Linked DNA regions of Homo sapiens: region 2 is linked to region 1. The links are contacts of gene promoters, found by promoter capture Hi-C in blood cells and fetal thymus (Javierre and others, 2016). All regions are on one chromosome and are shown on one strand. The core of a region is centred on a gene start or on the middle of the fragment in contact, and the rest is flanking DNA. Distances in the headings are between cores, read along the strand shown. Region 1 holds the start of UTP14C (UTP14C small subunit processome component). Region 2 has its middle 42 kb from the start of NEK3.

Region 1 (6,795 bases), core at 2,835-5,334:
AGAATGGAAGCCGAAGGCTAGTCATCCATTTTCTTTTCAACACTTCCTTTTATTCTAAAAGGAAATTTTGTCTGTTTTCTAAAGTAAAATGATTTGACAAATGAGATTGAATTTAGAAAAATATTTACATATGAAGGTGTTTAACCAGTTTATATAAAATATCTTTAATTTTACAGATATGGCATTACTTAAATAACTTTTCCACAGATGATAGGAATGTCACTTCAAATTCCTGATCAGAGAATCTGCTTACAGATGCACGAGCACTTTTTCTGATTTGGAGTCTCTTTTCTGCAGACATGGAAAGAATGTGAGCGATAGTTTCAGCATAGTCTTCTTCACTCTCAGCCAGAAAGCCAGTTATATCTCCTTCGTGAGGAACCACAATGTCAAGCTTTGGGCCCCCCGAATTGTGTGCAAGGATAATTGTGCCAGCTGCCATACACTCCACAACTCCTGAGAAAAAAAACACAAATCATGTAATCTTTTAAGTTTTTGAGTGTGTTCATAAGAATGAGGATGAATAGAAATCTTCAAAAAATTTAAGGGACTTATGAGAAACTTAATTAAATGTATGTCTAGACATTTGCTTATTCAACTTCTACAGTACAAGATAAAATAATTTTAAGTTTTTTAGTTTTCAAAGCTTCATAATAATACTGCTTCACTTTTTTTTTTTTAAGAGATAGGGTCTCACTATGTTGCCCAGGCTGGCCTCTAACTCCTAGCATCAAGTGGTCCTCCCATCTTGGCCTCCCAAAGTGCTGGGATTTACCAGCGTGAGCTACCACACCCAGCCTGCTGCTTTATTCTTAGTTAAAATAGACAAGTAGATGGAAGACTAGCCTATTAAAAAAGATATATTGCAGATAATTAAAAAAGAAGACTAGAGAATGTTAGCAAGATGGTAGAATATTAACAGGTATTAGAAAAACAAAAGGAGTAAAAACATATAAAAAACAATTTTAATAGTTCAAATTACATTAGCAGAAAAAATAAAAAAGTGAATCACCTAAGTGAAGCATACTATCGCCGTGCTTATGTTACTGCCTGGATTTCTGGCATATTTGAGACTACTGCATGCCCAACAACAGTGCTGAACTAAATGAAAGTTGTGGTTAGTTTCTGCCAAATGATACACATGAAATATAAATTACTCTAGCCAGCCCTTCTTAGCCATATTCCTAGGAGAATTAAGCCCTTCAGGGAATGATTCAAGTGACTGCTTTCCCAATTATCTGAAGGATGGTACAGAGCTGATATCATCCTGGATGTATAGGAGAGAAATTAAATCATTCCAAATGTTTTTAGAACTGGTGAAATCCCTGCAGAACAGAATTCAGTAGCTCATATCATATTCTGCTTGAAGCTGGAGAGCATCCTGTACTTTCTCAGAGACCTGCATCTTTTACCCTTTCCCTCTCTACTGGCTCCTTCCTATCAGCTAGGAAGCTAGGGCACCACATGCCCTTTCTCAGGTCCTGCAACACCCACCCCTAGCCACTGTCTCTTCTCCCCCTCCCCGTACTTCACAGATAAACTTACTGAAAGTGTGGTTTGCACTTACCAACTCTACTTGTTCACTTCTGAGTGCTTGACTTTTGATTTTTGCTCATAGTCTGACTTTTGCTTCTACTTCTCCCTCAAGACTGCTCTTGCCCAGGTCACCAGTGACTGCCTTACCTTCCCCAGCATCTGGGCAGCATCGGAATCTGTGCCCTCTCCATTCTTCTCCAAACACTCTCTTCCTTGGTTTCTAAGACACTGCACTTGGATGGCTTTCCCCGCCTCTCCATTTCTTCTCCCCATTTCTCAGCTGTTCCTGTTCTCTGCATTTTGTACTGAGAGCCTCTTTTCACTCTGTACATATTCCCCAGGCGATCTTAACCACATCCACGGGAGCTTTGATAACTACCTGCACAAGGACAATCCTCATTTTTTATTTCCAGACCAGACTCCTCTCAACTTCAGACTCCTATATACAAAACTACCTCCTGGACGCATGCCCTCACATGTCCCACAGATGAACTCAAATTCTGCAGGTTCAAAACTTGGCTCATTAATGGCATTTGCTCTTGGATTTCCCCTCTGGGAGAAAGCCAACACCATTCTCACAGCTGCCCTGCTCCCAAAACCCTAGGTAGTCTTCTCTTCCTCCCTCATTTAACACATCCAGTTAATCACCAAGTCCTGGTCAATACTACTGCAGAATGTTTCTCAAGCATGTTCACCTACGAAGTTCAGCTCATGAGCACCTCCATCTGGGCTGCTACAGTAGGCCGGCTCATCTTACTGCCCTTCCAGTCTTGCTCTCCCTGCTCTTCACTGATCCACTCCCCATGTGGCCAGAATGGACTGGAGAAATCAGAAAGCTTTTACGTGCAATACTTAAAATCCTGCTATTTTTTTCCACTGGCTTAACCTGGCCTATATCACCTCTCTGTTGTCTTCCTGCTGAATGTTCCTATTGATGCATCTGTTGTCACTCCTGTCACAGTGCTGTTCCCTCTGCTGGAGACTCTCCCCTCTCTCCTGGCTAACCTCTATTGTTCGGGTCCTGCTCAAGTGTCACATCATTTCCTTGGGCAACTGTTCCCTGCCCGCACAAGTCTGTGTTAGGTTTCTCTTTGGCGCTTTCACATCACCCTGCACTTCCTTAGCATAGCACCTGGCACACGGCACAGCACGGCACGGCACTTGCCTGTGTAGCCTGTTGGTACCACCAGAGGGTGGGAAGCCTCTGACAGGCCAAGCAGCTCCTGTCTCCACCACATCCCTAGCATCCACCCAAGCGCTCAGCAGAGTGAATGCTTAGTAAGTTTCTATGGAAGGAAGCACAGGAGGTCAGATCCCATGCAACAGGTTGGGTCAACAAGTTCTTGCTTAATGTCTGGGCCTAGCACTACACTACTAACTAGGAGTAAAAAGAGTATAAGAGAAATTGAAGTCTTAGTTTAGGAAATGTCACTTTTATGTTATCCTCATTTCCCCTAACAACTAACAGTGTGAGGCACAAAGCGCTTGAGAAATATATGTGGACCCAAATTAAACACAAAGCAGTACTTGATTTTATAGCAAAATGTGTGCTTAACAGGTCAGAATAGAGATAGCAGTTTGTGCCAGAATAAACAAGAAAGGCTAAAGTGCAAGGAGATTTAAGTTGAAGACTTATGATGCAATCTGGCACAAAGAGGAGAGCCATTCCAATGGTGAGGGTAGAATCAATAAAAGACTAAAAGAGTTACTGTGAGAAGCCCCTATGCAAACAGTGGTTCTCAACTTTTGATGCATAACAGAATCACTTAAGCAGCATTATCAAAATACATCTACCTGGGCCTTGTCCAGAGATTCTCATTTGGCCATTCTGTAGGATTAGGGTAGGGCCCAGGAATCTGTACCAGTAAGTATGTAGTGGGGTTAGATGGAGAGAGAAAATGTTGCTGTTAAGAGCAGGGGCTATCTGGGTTAGAATCCGGGCTCTACCACTTACTGTGTAACTGAACTCGAGCAATTTCTAAACCTTCCTGTGCCTGAGTTTCTTTATTTATAAAATGGGAATAACAATAACACCTATCAAACGGGTTTAGAAAGGCTTAAATTAGATAATACATGTAAAAATCTCAACACAGTGGCCCACACACAGGAATTGGTCAATAAATACTAGCTGCTATTATTAACTACTATCTTACAAGGTCTCAAGTGAGGAAAGCACATTTGGTGGATGAGGGCAAGAGAATTAGGGCATGATGCAGATTTCCAGAGTATTATCATTTTATCAAAAGAACTTAAAATGTGTATCTCATGGCACCAAACAAGTTGTTTAAAGGCCAAACTCACCAATCCCAAAATGCTCGTTCCACATGGTATGCAGACCAATTGTTGCTTCAGACAAATAATTCTTTAATTCATCAAATGGAATGTTTATTTTAAATTCCACATATTCTTGAACTCCTAAATCCTCAGACAGCCTTCTCAGTTGGTTTACCCTAAGTTCATCATCTTTGTTACGACAACCTCCAATGAGGACAAGTTTAAGCGAAGGAGGTGACTCAACCATCTTCTTATTCAGCAATTTAGCAAAGGCTCTGATCTGCAATGGATGATTCTTTTCCGGCCTAAACTGGCCAACAGAAACCAGCAAATGTCCTGGGGTCATCTTTTTCTCATGTAAGGGAATGTCCAGAAATGTCTGCACATCACAAGGTGGATAAACAATGTTAGTGCAATTCCCAACTTTCCATAGTGAGAGAATATGGTTTAGTGTCCAAGAAGAATTGACCATGACTACATCACTGCAAGAACCAACAAGTCCATAAATAAAAGCAAATAAATAGTAGTAGATGAGCTTTACTTTGCTGAGAAAAGGATTCCTGGTAATGAAGGCTGCATTATTAAATCCAATATTTTGATTCTTCACTACAGAGAGCATGTCGGTGCTGATAGTAGGATAATGAACATAGCTTCCAACTTGGCAACCCCCTATATACTTAAACAGAGGAAGCGTAAAAGCGTATCCCATTGAATCAATGTAAACATCAGGAACACACTGCATTAGAGCTTCCCAGCCAAGAAAAATGGATCCTAGACTTTGGCCCAGCAGTGTGAAGTGAGGATACAGTGAATCTTCCACAAGATAGCGTTTCCTTAAAAAAACAAACTGCACTGGGTGAATTAATCTGATGTTAAATCTTCTGAAAGCACCTTCTAGTATCTGTTGACCGTTGACATTAACATCGCCGGTATAAACAACATAAACTGCTTCAGGATACCTAAAATAGAATGTAATGGTTAAGAATATATTAAGTTACAAAAATTAGCCAGACACGGTGGCACGCACCTGTAATCCCAGCTACTCAGGAGGCTGAGGCAGGAGAATCGCTTGAACCCAGGAGGCGGAGGTTGCAGTGAGCCGTGATCATGCCACCGAACTCCAGCCTGGGTGACAGAGTGAGACTCCATCTCAAAAAAAAAAAAAAAAAAAAGCCTGCTACCTACCCTGAGAGACTGAGAGCCGAGACTGCATCACTGCACTCCTGCCTGGGCAACAAGTGTGAAACTCCGTCTCAAAAAAACAAAAACAAAAACAAAAAAAAGAATATATTAGGTTAAAATCAAGCAAAAAGTTGTAGATAACTATTTTCTTACAGTTATAAAGAAGATTTGATTTTTTTTTTTTTTTTGGAGACAGTTTCACTCTTGTTGCCCAGGCTGGAGTGCAATGGCGCCATCTTGGCTGACAATCTCTGCCTCCCGGGTTCAAGTGCTTCTCCCGCCTCAGCCTCCCGAGTAGCTGGAATTACAGACATGCACCACCACGCCCGGCTAATTTTGTATTTTTAGTAGAGTCAGGGTTTCTCCATGTTGGTCATACTAAAAATGATGTTTTCTACATTTTTTATTGAATTAGAAGTACAGTCCTTCAAATGAGACCATGACTTCTAGTTCTTTGCTATTTCCTCCACTGAGGGTTTCACACAGAACAGGCATCAACAGTAAGTGTTGATTTATGAATGAGATGGTCTAAAGAAATACTAAAAAGTTTTGACAGTGTTCTTAGTAAAAAAAATGGTAATAAAATACTATAAACAAGAATTAAGATTCAACAAACCTGTCTTCAGATAGGATCACAATACTAAAGCAATACTCAGGGTTTTTATCTGAAAAATGCAAGTCTTTAAAAGCTAGATCTTGTGCCTATATCACAATTAGATATAATTAGTATGAAAATATCTAAAAGTATATTCTTTAATGACTTGTAATACTTTGGTCTCCCTCTGTTTATAATTATTCTTTGAGTCATAAAACATTTATTGGCTGGGTGCAGTGGCTCACGCCTGTAATCCCAGCACTTTGGGAGGCCGAGGCGGGTGGATCACCTGAGGTCAGGAGTTCAAGACCAGCCTGACCAATATGTGTGGTGTGGTGGCACATGCCTGTAATCCCAGCTACTTGGGAGGCTGAGGCAGGAGAATTGCTTGAACCCAGTAGGCGGAGGTTGTGGTGAGCCAAGATCGCACCACTGCACTCCAGCCTGGGCAACAACAATGAAACTCCATCTGAAAAAAAAAAAAAAAAACAAATTTATTAAGCATCTAGTAATGAGATGCCAGGTTTTGGGGGTATGGAGATGAGAGAGAGTCTTTATCTTCAGAAGTTCAGTCCAGTGGAGAAAACAGACATGCAAAACAAATAACTGCAAAACTGTGTGCTACGCATTGATAAAGACACCCACAGGATGCTGGGGAAGCCTAAAGGATGACAATCTAACTGCTCCTCTCTGGCCCCTTCCCAGTCACTCTTTACCCAGCAGCAAGAATGAGCCTTTTAAAATGTGAAAAAAGATTGTGATCTCTGGTAGCCTAAAAATGCCCACAAATTCCATTTGTTTTTTCTTTCTTTTTTTAAGACAGGGTCTCGCTCTGTCTGTCGCCCAGGCGGGAGTACAGTGGCGTGATCTTGGCTTATTGTAGCCTCCACCTCTCGGGTTCAAGTGATTTTCGTGCCTCAGCCTCCTGAGAAGCTGGGATTACAGATGTGTGCCACCATGCCCAGCTAATTTTTGTATTTTTTAAGTAGAGAAGGGGTTTTGCCATGTTAACCAGGCTGGTCTCAAACTCCTGGCCTCAAGTGATCTGCCAGACTTGGCCTCCTGAAGTGCTGGGATTACAGGTGTGAGCCACTGTGCCCGGACGGGCCACAAATTCTTTGATACTTTTCTCACTGAGAGGTGGCATCTAAGTCCCCTCCCCTGGAATAACACCTGGCTCTGTGACTATTTTGACCAACAGAATATGG
Region 2 (6,386 bases), core at 3,108-5,607, 180 kb before region 1:
TGTGTTAGGAAATTTCCAGAACATAGCTGGGGTTTTCAAACAATGCTAGGCAGCCAAAAAACATGACACATGTCCACTCTGCACAGACCGAGCATCCCAGTCAAAGGAAACATGCAAAGGCACAGAGGTGTGAACCGGCAGAGCACGTTTGGGGAAATGGAAGCAGTTTGTTTCTGCAGAAGAGAGCAGTGAGTGTTGGGAGAGTTGCTTGGAGTAGCCGGCAGGAGCCCCTGCTAAACTCGTGGTCCTTGTGGCTCCAACCTCAAGGGAAAATACTTTTTTTTTGAGACAGAGTCTTGCTGTGCCACCCAGGCCTGAGTGCAGTGGCATGATCACAGCTCACTGCAGCCTCGAACTCCTGGGTCCAGGTTCATGTCCGTGTCCTGAATGGCTGGGACTACAGGCGTGCGCCACCACCCCCAGCTAATTTTTGTATTTTTCTGTAGAGATGGGTTTTTGCCATGTTGCCCAGGCTGCTCTTGAACTCCTGGTCTCAAGCAATCCTCTTGCTTTGGCCTCCCAAAGCACTGGGATTACAGTTGTGAGCTATCAAGCCCAGGAAGGGCAAGTACTTGTATCTTACTCAGTGTTCCCTGCTGAGGCCCAGGAGCTGTGACTAACTCCTTGCCGGGCCCAGGGCCCTGCCCCTTGTGAGTTTTAGTCAGTATCTGTCTAAAGGAATTATCTTTGTAAACTGTTGGATTGCATCATTGTTGTGAAATAGCAAGTGTATGCAGCTTCTCTCTCTTTCTCTTCTCTCTCTCCTTCTCTCTTGTGTGTACATTTCCACAATGTACTATTTTATCATTACATTAATAATGGTTCCCCCAGAAAAATAATCTGGATTTAGACCCTTTGTATCTAAATATTTGTATGGCACCTATCACTAGATATTTAGCCATTTATAACATCTTTTTAAAATGCTTTCATTAAATTAGTTATTCTGGGCAAATACAGGCAAATATAACCATTGAAAGGACACACAAATAAAGGCCCAGCAGAGTTGAGATGCCATTGCCTTAGAGATTAGCATGCAAGCTCTGGGTCAGACACCTGAGGGGGAAATCCTAGCCTCTCTGCTTCCAGCTGGATGAGTCGGAAAAGTCTCTTGGGGTGGGAATGAGAGGAAAGATCTGGTTCTGCCAGTTGATGGTCTGAGTACCCCCTGCTCCATGCTGCTGCTTCTCAGCTTCATGCGATTGTACCTTTGAGGACTTCCATGGACCACATTCTAACCTTTTTAATTTTTTTTAAGACACAAAGTCTTGCTCTGTCACCTACGCTGGAGTGCTGTGGCGTGACCATAGCTCACTGCAGCCTTGAGCTCCGAGACTCAAATGATCCTCCCACCTCAGCCTCCTAAGTAGCTGAGACTACAGGCCTGTGCCACCATGCCTGGCTAATTTTTAATTATTTTGTTTGTGTGTTTGTTTGTAGAGAAGGAGGTCTCACTATATTGACCAGGCTGTTCTCAAACTCCTGGCCTCAAAGAATCCTCCCATCTAAGCCTCCCAAAGTGCTGGGATTACAGGTGTGAGCCACTGTGCCCAGCACTAACCCTCTTATTTACAATGGGATTGTTTGCCTCACTGTGCCTAAATTTGTAAAACATGGCCAATTCCCAAATGTTCATCATTCAAAGTATTTAGTCAATTTCTCTGTTCCAATTAAGAACCGGAAATTTGGAGATGAAAAGCCGCACCTCATTTCGTTCACTGAGAATCACAAAGCCAGGCACAGGGGGCTGGGAGCAGTAGAGCATGGTCACAGAACCCAGCCCAGAGGACCAGGAAATGTTCTGGAGCTTGGGGCAAGAGCTGAGCCTTGAAGTAGGAGTAGGAGTTAGGCAGGGAAGAGGAAGGGAACACAGCATTGGATGGCAAGGAGATGGGGGAAGGCATGGCCGCGTCTGGGAGCTGCAGGGGCTCCCGTCAGGGTGGGAGGAGAGGTAATGGGAAGGAGACTAGCGAAGGAGGCAGGGCTGATCTTGAGGGGTCTCACAGGCCCTGCTAAGAGAGTGCAGGGTTTCTTTAGAGGATGGTAGAGGGAGCCGCTGAGTAATACAGACTTCCTGATGTGAACATAGCTGTGTGGAGGAGGCTGACAGCATGGACTCTGGGTCGACTGTCCGGTCCTCAAAAGCTGGCTCTCCCACCTGATGATTTTGTGATAGTGAGAAGCTCCTGTAAGCCTCAAATTTCTCATCTTAAAAGTGAAAAATGGTGTTACTTGCCTCAGGAAAGTTTGTGAAGATGAGACAATACATATAAAGCACTATTATAGTGTCTAATACTTAGTGGTCAATAAATGCTAACTATTGTTGTTATGGATCATTTGAATAATAATGAGGTATACAGTTTGTCTCATTTTATAGACTTGTGATAATGGAATGAATGAACTTTGTCACAGCAAAATAAGTTTAAAATGTTAGTTGTGTATCCTGATAGAAAATATAAACTTAAAAAGATTTCTTTGTGAGACAGAGGTCTCACTATGTTGCTCAGGCTGGTCTCGAACTCCTGGCCTCAAGCTAACCTCTCGCCTCAGCCACTGTGTCTAGCTAATATAAACATTTGTTTATTCATTCCACAAATATTGATTGACCATGAAGGATGTACCAGGCACAATTCTAGGCTCTTGGGATAAGGTAGTAAATGAGGCTGCCCCTTGATGAGGGGTCCCTGCTCTCACTGAGCTTACATTCCAGCAGGGAGGCTGATGATGAGAAAGGAAACCACGTGTTTCCCAAGACCTGTACATTCCGCCAGGGCAGGGAACATGTTGCATTTGTACCTTGATCTATCCCAAATGCATGAGACAGGGCCTAGGTCAGGCACTTGATGAACGTGTTGAGTGAACGGAAGATTATTTCAGATAGTGCTGAGTGCCGGAAGACAAGGAAACAGCGCGACATGACAGAGTGGGAAGGTCGACTTGGCTAGATGCGGTGCACGGCTGAGAAAGCACTGCTGAGCTGAAGTGGATGGTATGAAGGAATCAGTCATGGGACAATCTTTGGGACAGCTATTCCAGGCCAAAGAATTTTCCATGCCTAAGCTGAAGGCCCTGAGGCAGGGCTGTGCTGGGAATGCACAAAGATGGGAATGAATGGACCCCACAGCACGGGGGCCAATCATTTGTGGGTCGTTGGCAGGCATGTCTTTTATCTAACAAGAGACTATGTTTGCCTCCAGAGGGCACTTGAACATAACAAATGCATCTAAGGGCCAGCTTAGGTTAACACTTAGACAGAGAAGCAGTTTCCTGAAAGCATAACTTCAGAGGCCAGGAAAGCAAAAAGAAAATAATCTCAGCTGAAGCCTTTGCTTATTGAAATTTGAAAGCACCTCTTTTAAAAATTAACTTTTATGAGATAGTACAAGTGTAAGCTAGCAATGTGGTCTTTCATACATTAGTGTTAGTTTAACAACATAGCCCTCCCCTTGGTGGATAGATGAGAGAGCAGTTTGACAGGTAGGAGAGGGGACGAAAGGCTAATTTAGAGAGGTCTCGGCAAGGGTGTCAGGCCTGGGTGAGACCCAAAGCAAGGAGGCTCTGAGAAGCTAAAAGGCAACATAGAGAGGGGCCAAGGGACGGGGGGAATGAGTACAAGAAGGCAAGAGGATGGGCTGGGGGAACCAGAGTACTCTCATGCACTTTAGAAATTGACCTGAGGACAGTTCTGCCTGGTCATATCTCTATCGTCTCCAAAAGTCATGTGCTAAGCACTGTTTCAACATAGTTCTATGTCATATGCTGTGCAATACACACTAGTGTGACATGATCCTGGTCTTCCATGCACCTAAAATCCAAGGCAGTTTTACACATGAATATACTAAGAACGAGTCGTCTTACGTGGAGGGGAAAGACAAGTACCTAGACAATCTAATTTGAAGGGCACGAAACCACTTCATCTTCCGTCCCATCTCCCATAAGTCCTCCTGCTGCTGAGGGGCTTTCCGTGCCCCTCCCTCTTACTTTGTCCTTTGGCTTTGGGCACTAAAGCGCTTGTGAAGAAGCTAATGAAATCTAGGAAACTCATCCATCTGGGTGCAACCTCTCTGGGCCTCCACAGGCCTGGCACCTGTTGCATTGCCTATCTTGTTAGTTTACCTGCTCCACATCTGTGATCTCTGCTAGATCACCAGCCCCTTGAAGCAGGGAACAAGTCATACTCACCTGTGTATTCCAAGGGGACTAAAGCTTCATTTTTCACATAGTGTTATACAGTTACACTAATATCATCTACCTATATATTATATAAACATGCACTTATGTTCATCTTTTGCTGCCGTTCTTTTTTTTGAGACAGGCTCTTGCTCTGTCACCCAGGCTGAAGTGCAGTGGCACTGCAGCCTCTGCCTCCTGGGCTTAAGCAATCCTCCCACCTCAGCCTCCAGAGTAGGTGGGACTGCAAGCACACATCGCCATGCCCACCTAATTTATTTATTTATTTGTATTTTTTGTGGAGGTGAGGTTTCACCAAGTTGCCCTGGCTGGTCTCAAGCTTTTGGGCTTCAGTAATCACCACCTTGGCCTCCTAAAGTGCTGTTTTAGGCTGTGTTTGATACTGTAGTTTGATCTGGTTTATAAGATAGACCAGCTGGAGATCTATCTATCCAGATAGATAGATAGATAGACAGACAGACAGATCCAGAAAGAAAGATAAAAATTTCCCAACTTGAAAGATGCAGAGACAAAACAGCTCTTTTTTTTTTTTTTTTGAGACGGAGTCTCGCTCTGTCGCCCAGGCTGGAGCGCAGTGGTGTGATCTTGGTTCACTGCAAGCTGTGCCTCCTGGGTTCACGCCATTCTCCTGCCTGAGCCTCCCTAGTAGCTGGGACTACAGGCACCTGCCACCACGCCCGGCTAATTTTTTGTATTTTTAGTAGAGACAGGGTTTCACCATGTTAGCCAGGATGGTTTCGATCTTCTGACCTTGTGATCCGCCCGCCTCGGCCTCCCAAAGTGCTGGGATTACAGGCGTGATCCCTGTTTTGTCGCGTCCGGCCCGACAAAACAGCTCTTAATCCACCTAAGAAAAAAAGGAAATACCACATCCAGTATGTACCACACACATCATCCCTCACCCAGATCAGGAAACCTCACGATGAGTTATGCCCCCAGTAAGTCCATCCAGCCTCATTCTCTCCTTCTTTCTGTGCCTTTAGCTAGTACATTGCCTTTGGAAAGATGTCCATAATCCATTAATACTTTTGCTAGTAGAGACACAAGTCAATTGAAGTAGGTAGCTGAAACTGCTGGACAACTGGGTTTATTCTGCAGGCTTATTTCACAAAGAGCAAACCTCAGAAAACTGAGGCCATTGCTGGCCTGGCTAGTTGGATTTCCAGATATTGACCATTCCTGGACTCCTTGTTACAGGTTTTCATACACCTGCTGAGACACATGACTGCGCTTGTTGGATAATCCTGATGTCATTGAGGAAATTAAATGAGATGAGGATGTAAATTGTTTAGTGTGCAGTGGGCAGTCAGTGGTGTTATTATCTCATTTCCACATTGCAGGTATTTATGCTGCACCCCGATTTTGTTGGAAACAGTCTTATGTACTTTTTTTACACAGAGGCATTGAAAGTTAATTCAGAGTTGATTTTAGGGGAAAGGATTACTTTGAACATAAAAGACACAAATTTACAGACATATTTATTGGGAAATGAAGTCACGTATATGGGCAATTCTCGTGACTAAAAAGCAATTAATAAAATAAATTACATTTGATTGCCTGTGAAATACATAGACAAAGTAGGTATGATGGAAAATGGCATAAAACAAACAGCAGAATAGGATACATTTTGCTGCACAAGCAAAGTAGCGACAGAGCCTGTAAGCCTCACCTGGGCCATGACATTCGTGTTCTGCCATCCTGTCACTTGGGAGAAGTGGCTTCATGGTTTACCTTTTTGTGTGTGATCCACTAGCATGAACTACTGATTACTTCATGCAGATGGACAGAATATTCTAAATTTTTCTGAATCTTTGTAGATGTATTATTTATTCACTTAGATCTTTCCAAGATGTATTATTTACTAGATCTAAGTGTTTCTTAGAATTCATGTAGTAATTAAATAATGTTAGAAATGAATCTGGGGTACATTAAATATCATGAGAAGTTCATTAAGGTGAATTGAAATTGCTTGTACCATTAAGGTAACGTGCTATTTTAATATCTTTGCTGTGATTTTTGTAACTTTGTAAGAGTTATCTATTTTTAGTATTTCTACGCTATTATGAATACCATGCATAACATAGTTTTTCGGCTTTTCACTAGTCATTGACTCCCACTTCTAATCATTGGCTATCAACTTTCAAATGATCATTTATTCATAGAATGTTTTGGAATCAGGGTGGTGATTATAAAAGTTG

What was found. The method cuts DNA at HindIII sites, captures the fragments that hold promoters and counts their contacts. A CHiCAGO score of 5 or more calls a contact.
Region 2: a fragment that was not itself captured here is called in contact with the fragment with the promoter of UTP14C in region 1 in 1 of 17 cell types (fetal thymus); the score reaches 5.1 in fetal thymus.

Annotation. Positions count from the first base shown.
Region 1 is chr13:52,021,980-52,028,774 of GRCh38, reverse strand. UTP14C (UTP14C small subunit processome component) reads right to left here and starts at 4,084. Exons shown (of 2, transcript NM_021645.6): 1 at 3,838-4,084; 2 at 1-456. ALG11 (ALG11 alpha-1,2-mannosyltransferase) reads right to left here. Exons shown (of 4, transcript NM_001004127.3): 3 at 3,838-4,769; 4 at 1-456. The coding sequence ends at 185. The HindIII fragment of the contact is 12,744 bases long and covers 2,375-6,795 here.
Region 2 is chr13:52,198,353-52,204,738 of GRCh38, reverse strand. No RefSeq gene overlaps it. Among named protein-coding and RNA genes, the nearest start is that of NEK3, 42 kb to the right of the region's middle. The HindIII fragment of the contact is 304 bases long and covers 4,206-4,509 here.